Linked DNA regions of Homo sapiens: all the other regions are linked to region 1. Evidence: promoter capture Hi-C in 16 types of primary human blood cells and fetal thymus (Javierre and others, 2016). All regions are on one chromosome and are shown on one strand. The core of a region is centred on a gene start or on the middle of the fragment in contact, and the rest is flanking DNA. Distances in the headings are between cores, read along the strand shown. Region 1 holds the start of CDHR2 (cadherin related family member 2). Region 2 overlaps UIMC1 (ubiquitin interaction motif containing 1). Region 3 has its middle 3.3 kb from the start of HK3.

What was found. The method cuts DNA at HindIII sites, captures the fragments that hold promoters and counts their contacts. A CHiCAGO score of 5 or more calls a contact.
Region 2: a contact is called between a fragment that was not itself captured here and the fragment with the promoter of CDHR2 in region 1, in 1 of 17 cell types (naive B cells). The highest score is 5.9, in naive B cells.
Region 3: a contact is called between a fragment that was not itself captured here and the fragment with the promoter of CDHR2 in region 1, in 1 of 17 cell types (M0 macrophages). The highest score is 5.7, in M0 macrophages.

Annotation. Positions count from the first base shown.
Region 1 is chr5:176,547,903-176,550,838 of GRCh38, forward strand. It overlaps CDHR2 (cadherin related family member 2), which reads left to right and starts at 1,440. Exons shown (of 32, transcript NM_017675.6): 1 at 1,440-1,512. RefSeq lists an enhancer at 1,712-2,645. The HindIII fragment of the contact is 9,099 bases long and covers 1-1,589 here.
Region 2 is chr5:176,966,185-176,969,120 of GRCh38, forward strand. It overlaps UIMC1 (ubiquitin interaction motif containing 1), which reads right to left. Exons shown (of 15, transcript NM_001199298.2): 6 at 2,371-2,936. Among named protein-coding and RNA genes, the nearest start is that of UIMC1, 39 kb to the right of the region's middle. The HindIII fragment of the contact is 1,963 bases long and covers 458-2,420 here.
Region 3 is chr5:176,901,220-176,904,155 of GRCh38, forward strand. No RefSeq gene overlaps it. Among named protein-coding and RNA genes, the nearest start is that of HK3, 3.3 kb to the left of the region's middle. The HindIII fragment of the contact is 1,138 bases long and covers 832-1,969 here.

The DNA.
Region 1 (2,936 bases), core at 190-2,689:
CCTGATATACAGTCAACACAACCCTTAACAACGGGGACACCTTCTGGGAAATGTGTCATCAGGCAATTTCGTCATTGTGTGAACATCACACAGTGACTTACACAAACCTAGGCGGTACCACCTACTACACACCCAGTCTCTATACCACCGCCTGTGCTCCTGGGCTGCTAACCTATGCAGCCTGGGACTGTACCGCACGCTGCAGGCAACTGTAACACAGGGGTAAGTATTTGTGCATGTAAACACAGAAAGGGTGCCATGAAAGATGATATTATACTCTTATGGGACCGCTATTATATGTGTGGTTCGTTGTTGACCAAAACACAGATATATGGTGCATGACTATATATCTATTGTGAATTAGACATGTCCTCTGCCCACAAGAAGAGGGCCACCCAATGGTGACGACTCAGTGGTGTGCCTTAAGAAAGTTGTGCCCAGGGTCCCCTTTCTGTGTCAACTGTGATGGCTGGGCCAAAGTGAGGATAAGAAGGACTTGTGGCTGAGCCCCTTCGGGAGGCCACCACATCGGGCAGCGCTTAAAGCCAGCCTGGGGGCCGAGCTCCGTGGCTCATCCCTGTAATCCCAGCATTTTGGAAGGCCGAGGCAGGCGGATCGCCTGAGGTTAGGAGTTCGAGACCAGCCTGGCCAACATGGTGAAACCCTGTTTCTACTAAAAATACAAAAAAAATTAGCCGGGTGTGGAGGCCCACGCCTGTAATCCCAGTTACTCGAGAGGCTGAGGTAGGAGAATTGCTTGAACCCAGGAAGCAGAGATTGCAGTGAGCCAAGATTGTGCCACTTCACTCCAGCCTGGGTGACAGAGCAAGACTCTGACTCAAAAATAAATAAATAATTAAAAAAAAAAGGCAACTTGGGAGTGGATGAAGCCCCTGGGGACGGGCAGATGCCTTTTGAGGGTCTCAATGCGGGGTGAGATCAGTGTCAACAGGCTCGAAAGTGGGTTGTCCAGGCTCAGCTAGCCCCCAGTCCTCCACGAGAACCTCACAGGGGCTGGTCTGGCCACACAGTGTTTGATTGTTACACTGTTTTACCACTTCCCTCTCCTGACTCAATCCCCCACTTGTCCACAGATCCCCTGTCACTGAAGACTCGTAGCAGGGAGGGGACGGGGGCTCTGGCATCACCTTCTGACTGTCACCGTCCCCGCCTCCAGCCTGCCCCAGTGTTGGGCCTTGTTCCCAGGTCCTCTGGGCTCAGGGTCGGCCAGGCCCCTTCTCCTGTGGTGTGGGCCTCCAGCCCCAGGAGCGCCAGGAGCTCTGGCGCCTTGGTCCCTTCCTCCTGTCCGGCGCCCCCAGCTGTACTCTGCCTCATTAGGAGTCGACCCCTCCTGGGAGGTGTGGTCTCTGGCAGGGTTAATGATTGCTCAGTGGAGGTGGAGATGGTGCCAAAGTCTGCTGGCCACATAGCTGCAGGCCGCAGAGGGTGCCCACCTGTGTGCCAGCGCCTGTCCGGCGCCTGCCTGCCGCCTCCGTGGCGAAGGGGACACAGGTAGGGACTATCCAGCTCATCGGGGGTCTCTGGGCCAGAGAAATGTGGGGGTTGGGGGGATCCCTAGAGCCAAGGCAAGCTTGGGGGTCTTTAAAAGTCTCCCCTGAAGCTGGGCAGGGGAAGTCACACGCTAGATGGGGCAGAGCCGGGTCAGGTCCCAGCCTGCTGTGAGGCCTGTTTCTTTGGTAAACATGGGATAATAATACCTCCTTCCCTGGGGGCTGATGGCCCCCTTCCCATCCAAGTCCTCAAGGGATGATTCTTCAGAGGATGGAAGGGAGGCAGGCACCCCAGGGAAACGAGGTAACTGGCCTGACCCCTTCATAGGATGCTCAGGGGTTGAGGACGGGGAAGCTGACCTGGGCTCTTACCCCAGCTGCTCGGTTCACATCCCAGCTCCACCCTGACCTTGGTGGGCTACTTAACTCTTCTGGGCCTCCGTTTCCTCATTTATCAAATGGGGATGAGAAGAGTTCCAGAAAGGGCCTGAAAAGCCCTGAGGCAAAGGTGAGCATGTGGCCTATGACCGAGCCCAGTGCCACCTCAGCCAGTGCTAGGAAGTGTCAGGCAGGGACTGACCCAGGCTGGCCCCAGCTCTGCCCAGTCCGGGCCTTGCACATCTCTCTGCCCTGGTAGAGGAGGTGGTGACCCAGCTGAGAGTCGGGGCCATGCTGCGTCACTCAGGCAGGCCTGTGCTGGGTTGGGCACCAGGCACAAGGCAGGGTCCCAGTGAGCACCGAGGTCCGGCAGATGGAAACAAGTCATGGCCCGTGTGTAGACCCCTTGATTTTTATCCTCACTCTGCTTCTCAGCAGGGGAAACTGAGGCCTGGAGAGGGGAGAGGGCTTGCCTGGGGTTGCACAACAAATATGTGAAATGCTGCCATCTGAACCCAGGGCTGTTTGAGTCTGTATGTGTCTGCTGGGCCAGGTGGCCTGGGCCATAGGCACTGGGAGGGCCCGTGGCGGGGAGCTGCGTGCTCAGGTCCCACATCCTTGCTCCGGGCACCCAGGCTCGGCTGGAGTCCGCTCTGTGGGTGCAGGCACGGCCTCCTGGATCAACGGAGCCCAGACCAAGGCTTGCCCAGGGACCCCTGGATTTGGAGGCAGCCTGGGTCTAACCTGCTGCCCCTGGCTCACCCATCTCTGGGCATCTATGAGCCTCGGTTTCCTTGGAATAATAGGATAGGATAATTCCTGCTTGGGAACAGCTGTGAGAAGTAAATGAAAAAGCAGAAGTGAAAGTGCATGGCGAGCTGGCCGTGTAGCGGTGGCGGTGCTGGGGGAGCTCTGTAGCATCGTGGCTGAGTGCACCCCGGGGGCTCCCCACACTGAAGGAGGACCCACCTCCCCACCCTGACCCTCCTGGAGGTCCTGGGCAGTCCGGGTATCCTCACTCCCAGTGGTTCCAAATTCTAGAAAATC
Region 2 (2,936 bases), core at 189-2,688, 420 kb after region 1:
GACCTTTGATCCCTTAGAGAGAATTACCAGTTGTTCAGTGCCTATGCTATGCATTGCAGTAGACATTTTACACAAATTCACTTTAATCATTAAAATAACTGTCGAAAGATAGGAATTGTTATTCCCACTGTATAGACGTGAAACTGGGATTCAAAGAGGTTAAGTGACTTGCTCAAAAACACACAAATTACTAAACACAAAAATCAGAACTCAACTCCAAATCCATGTTCTCTATTCTATGAAGCTCCTCAAAGTTACCATTTCTTGAACCTTTATCATAACACAAGAAAGACAGAATAACATAATAGTAAAACAAAACCAAAAGTCAAAGTCTGGTAACAGAAATAGCAAGAAAAAACAGTATAGTCATAAAACAGAATACTCTTTAAAATTACAATTTATATATAAAGAGTTTATATTATTGCTTTATAATATTCAAAGGGAAAAATAAGATATAAGCTTTCATACACAATATAATCTAGCTACTTCAGAAAAAGCAAACTAAATGTACCAAGATGAAGATTGGTTTCAATAAATTATTCAAAACCACTACAAGCAAAATAATAAATATACACCATTATGTAATGGGAAAAAATAACTCGGAAACTATCCATACTTCATATCACAAAGGACTACTTTCTCTACTATATAAAGTGTATCCACAAACCAATAGATTATCAAAAGAAAAAATGATCATAAGATCTAACAGACAGAAAAGGAAATACAAATGGGTCTTAGACATGTGAGAAAAAAGTTCAGCCTCACAAATAGTAAGAGATACGCAAATTAAGACTACACTGAGACGCCATTTTTCATCTCTCAGACTGGCAAAGATCAAGAAGTCTGACAATACTGCATTACTGTAGGTATGGAGAAACTAGTATTCATACACTGCCAGTGGGAATGTAAATGTATATGATCTCTATGGAGGGCAATTTGGCAACAGCTAATGAAATTATAAATACATTTTTTGGTCCACCAATTACAGCTACAGAAAATTATCATATAATACAAATATCTTCCATGTGGATGAAATGTCTTCTGGACATTTTACTATCTGTAACAGTAAACTCTGACTAATCCACACATGGTATTTTTCACATCCAAAAAAAAAAAAAGATGAAGAAATTCTTTATATACTGTTATGTAATGATCTCATTAGGATATTAAATGAAAAAAGTAGAAAATAATGTGTAAATCATTTGTGTAAAAGAAGGCAGGGAAAAGAAAATGTATTCTGCTTGTACCAGATAAAGTATCTTGGAAGGATACACTAGAACTAGTAACACAAATTTGAGTCCAGAGAGGGGAACTGGCTGGCTAGGTGATAGGGAGAAAAGTTAAGACTTTTTACTTATATATTTTTGAATTTCGAGCCATGTGAATATTGTTACCTATTCAAAAATTTAACCTTTCAGAAATAATAATAATTTTTAGACCAGGCGTGTTGGCTCATGCCTACACTGCCAACACTTCAGGAGAACAAGGTAGGTGGATGGCTTGAGTACAGGAGTTCGAGACCAGCCTGGGCAACAAAGTGAAACTCAATCTCTACAAAAAATATAAAAATTAGCTCAGCGTAGTAGCGTGCACCTATGGTCCCAGCTATTGCGACGGGCTGAGGTTGGGGGATCGCTTGATCCCAGAGGTGGAGGCTGCAGGGACCCAAGATGGCATCGGTGCACTCTAGCCTGGGTGACAGAGCGAGACCTTGTCTTTAAAAAAAAAAAAAAAAAATTTATACAAAAAATAAATTATGGTTTATCTATGGTAGAATAAGTCATCTATTAAGAAATGATCTAAGATAAACTATAAAGTAGGGAGAGGAACAAAACTTAACACAGAAGAGTCTTCATTTTGTTCAAAAAATTTTTTCATGTATTTTTGTATGCATAGAAATGATGACTGGCCAGGTGTGGTGGCTCACGCCTGTAATCCCAACACTTTGGGAGGCCAAGGCATGCAGATCACAAGGTCAGGAGTTCAAGACCAGCCTAGCCAACAGGGTAAAACCCCGTCTCTACTAAAAGTACAAAAATTAGCAGGGCATAGTGGCAAGCACCTGTAATCCCAGCTACTTGGAAGGCTGAGGCAGGAGAACTGCTTGAACCCGGGAGGTGGAGATTGCAGTGAGCCGAAGATTGCGCCATTGCACTCCAGCCTGGGAGACAGAGCGAGACTCCAACTCAAAAAAAAAAAAATGGTAGTTTTTTTCTTCTTTATACTCTCCTGTACTTTCCTAATTTTCTATAGTGAACATGTATTACTTTAATAATCAAGGAGGGGAAGACCACAAAAATAACAGCTAAAATAATCCTTGTTTTAATCTGTGAATAAATCATCCTTAATTACAGCATCACTGACCCTTACCTGACCATGACTGGTTGTTGGTTCTTCCTCCAACAAAAGTTTCTCTTTCAAGCTTTTAATTGAGCTTTCCTGGAAATCCTTGGTTTTTGAGTGCCAGTCAGATGCCCTAGACTCCTGCCTCTCCTCTTTGTCTTCATCTCCCATATCTTCTGAGATGCATTCATTTTTCTCACTAGCCTGCTCTCCTTGGCCACATTCATTCTGGATCAGAGAAGGAGGTCTAGGTAACACTGGTTCCCCAAAACCTTTTTTATTAAGGAGCTGCCTCTGAGCCATTTTCAGGCTCTTTTGATAAACCTCCAACTGGCAGAGAATGACCTTGGTATACTGGTTAGGGTCTACTCCATCAGGGCAGAATGGAATACCCCAGAAATAGTTCACAGTGCCCCCAGTGTCCTGGAGACCTTTGGCATCTGCTAGGGTAGGTAGACAGTGCCTAGATGTGTCCCCGCTACCCTGGACAGCTTTGAGAAAAGCAGAACCCCTCCCAGTACTTTCCTGTGGCTTCCCACACTGTGTGTGCTCAGCCGAGTGGCCAGTACATCTGTCAAAAGATTTAACGTTCA
Region 3 (2,936 bases), core at 151-2,650, 350 kb after region 1:
TCTGCTTATTGGTTCCGTATTATGATGCATGTTCTTGTATCACTGCATTTATATCTGTTTATTAAAGGCATCTGTTTATGTGTTCTTCTTCCCCATTGTACTATGGGCTCCCAGAGAATGTTTCTTATTCACCCGTGCAGCCTCAGACCTCAGTTCTTTATCTGGCAAGGAACAAGTATCAATTAATTTTTGTTAAATTGAAGAGCCCTCCCACAATCTCAATAGTCCACGGCTGGCCAAGCATGATGGCTCACGCCTGTAATCCCAACACTTTGGGAAGCCGAGGTGGACGGATCACTTGAGGTCAGGAATTCATGATCAGCCTGGCCAATACAGTGAAACCCCGTCTCTACTAAAAATTAAAAAAATTAGCCGGGCGTGGTGGTGTGCACCTGTAATCCCAGCTACTCGGGAGGCTGAGGCAAGAGAATTGCTCGAACCTGGGAGGCAGGGTAAGTTGCAGTGAGCCGAGATCACGCCACTGTACTCCAGCCTGGGTGACAGAGCAAGACTGTCTCAAAAAAAAAAAAAAAAAAAAAAAAAGTCCAGGGCTTTTGAAACTGAGAGGAAGCAAGCAAGCTCTTACTGTCTTCCTGGTGCATATGGTTTCAGCAGTCTTTCCACTAGTCCATCTTTCCACTGACAACTACAACCCTCTCATCCACTTACTACCTGCCTTCCCCTCCCCAAATTCCCATCTGCTAACAACCTAAGGCCAAAGCTACCCTGATTCACAGGCAAAAATGAGCTCATCCAAACCTGAAATTTCCCTTGAGTCATTAGTTTTGTGACTGAAATGAGAAGTAGGAAGTAGTGTGCTATAGTACAGAAAGCTTCAGCTCTGGGGTCAGGCAGACCTGGTTTCAAAATCCCATCTCATTACCAACTGAAAGACCTTAGACAAATTTCTTATTCCTCTGAGCCTCGGTTTTCCTTGTATAAAACTTGGAGACTGATGTCTTCATAGGATTTGCTTTAGGTTAGGTAAACCCAGAGGCAGACCTAATTTGAATGCAAATAACTTTATTTGGGAAGTGATCCAGGACAGGGCCAGAATCAGGGCAATGCAAATGATATGCCTAGGGTACAGAATGTAAAGAGACCCTCTCAGGTTCATACGGGTGCCAACCTTGCACTTAGATGAACCCAAGAATAAAGGCTCATCACCCTAGTCCCAGTCCTGATCAGGAAAATACAGAAGAGGAGCTGGAAGCCAGGTAGGAAGAGAAAGAAGCCAAGGAAGTGTACGTTAATTGTTACTGGGAGCTTAGAGAGGTTCACTCCCACAGGGAACCCTGAGAAATAGGTAGAATGTGCCTTAGAGTTGTCCCTCACTGAGTGAGGAAGCTGGGGTATCTATCCTCCCACTTCCACTGGCTGAGAGCTGTCCCAGGGGCACTAACTCCCTGGTACTCTCAGCTTGTGCCAACACAAACCAAGAGAAGTCCTCAGGCAGAGTCTCAGGTACTTGCAACAGGACTCTGTGGGTATACAGCAGAATGGCGAATGCCTGGGGGAAATGGGCGAGGCACAACCTCTGCTGGGGCTGCTGTAAGGACTAAATGAAAAAGCACAACTACAGCGCCTAACAAAGAGAAGTCCCCCTCTATCTCTTCCAATTTACGGCAATAGCTTGTGAAGTTTATGGAGCTTCCCAGCTCTCCGTGAGTTGGCAGCATCAGCAGAACAGCTATTTCTCATCTTTCAGAAGTAAAAGAAATCCAGGGGCCCTAGGAGAACTCTAGATGCCTGGGACCCAAGTTTCCTGTGGAAGCCTGATGGTTGATGGAGCCCGAGTAGTCCCTCCTGAGTACACATTCCTCTGAAAACTATCTCCTCTTGCATCTGCACCCGTCCCCCATCCCTCCACCCCTCAGTGCAACATCATTTGTGACACATAGACTAGCATCACATTAATAACTGCTGCCACTAACTCATTCTTCTATGTGATGACATTGTGCTGGATCAAAGCTTTATCCACATTATGGTAATCCTTAGAACCCTGTTAGTATGATCTTTTCCCATTTTATGGACAAGAAAGCCAGGTCTCAGAGAGGTTAACTTTTATCAGAAGCAGGGTGCAGATGTAGGCTGATCTCACACATTTTATACTTTGTCTCTTCACTCTTTCACTAATGCTCCTCTCACAGGATCACAGCATGGGGAGAATAAGACTGTGGGCAAACAAGACGGTTGTGAGGAGGCGATGGGGGAAGTGGGTAGCTGTTCTTCCCTTGACTCCCCATTAGCTAATAATTAAGCCTGTGGTTCCTGGTCTGGCTGATCCATACCCTCCTGCTGCTGACTCATGTTTTAGGGAAACTGCTCAATTTTAAGCTAAATAATTCACTTTCCAGAAGTACCCTTTCCCTTTTCTTATCTTCAGGCAAACAGATACACACACTGTCCCCTGTTTATACAGCGCTACCTCCAATAAATTGCCATTTAATGAAAGAGAAAACAAGCGAGAGTTAAGCTTATGGGACATAACTGATAAACTACTTTTCACTAGAAGAAAAACAGGAAAATAATCAATACTGGAGTCAAAATATAGCATTTTCTTCAGGAATGAAGAGTAGGGGCACTGTGGTTCCACTGCCATGGACAAAAAGTGGCTTATTTGTTACTCTAAGCCTTTGCTTCCTCATCTGGAAATTGAGATGATAATACCTATACCCCATAGGGTTGCTATGAGGATTAAATGAAGGCCACATACATTGCCTGGACCGTAGTAGTTGCTCAAAAAATAACAGCTATTTCTTATGTGCTGCTAGCCACTAGGTCAGTGCCATCCAACAGCAAGACATTATCTATGGAAGGAAAAGACAGTGAGACTGCCATCTTGCCTTCTTCTAACTCAAAAGGTTGTGTGCAAAGGGACCTAGGCAGGAACAAGGCCTTAATGTTTGTGCTGTCTTCCATCCCAGCTATCTGCT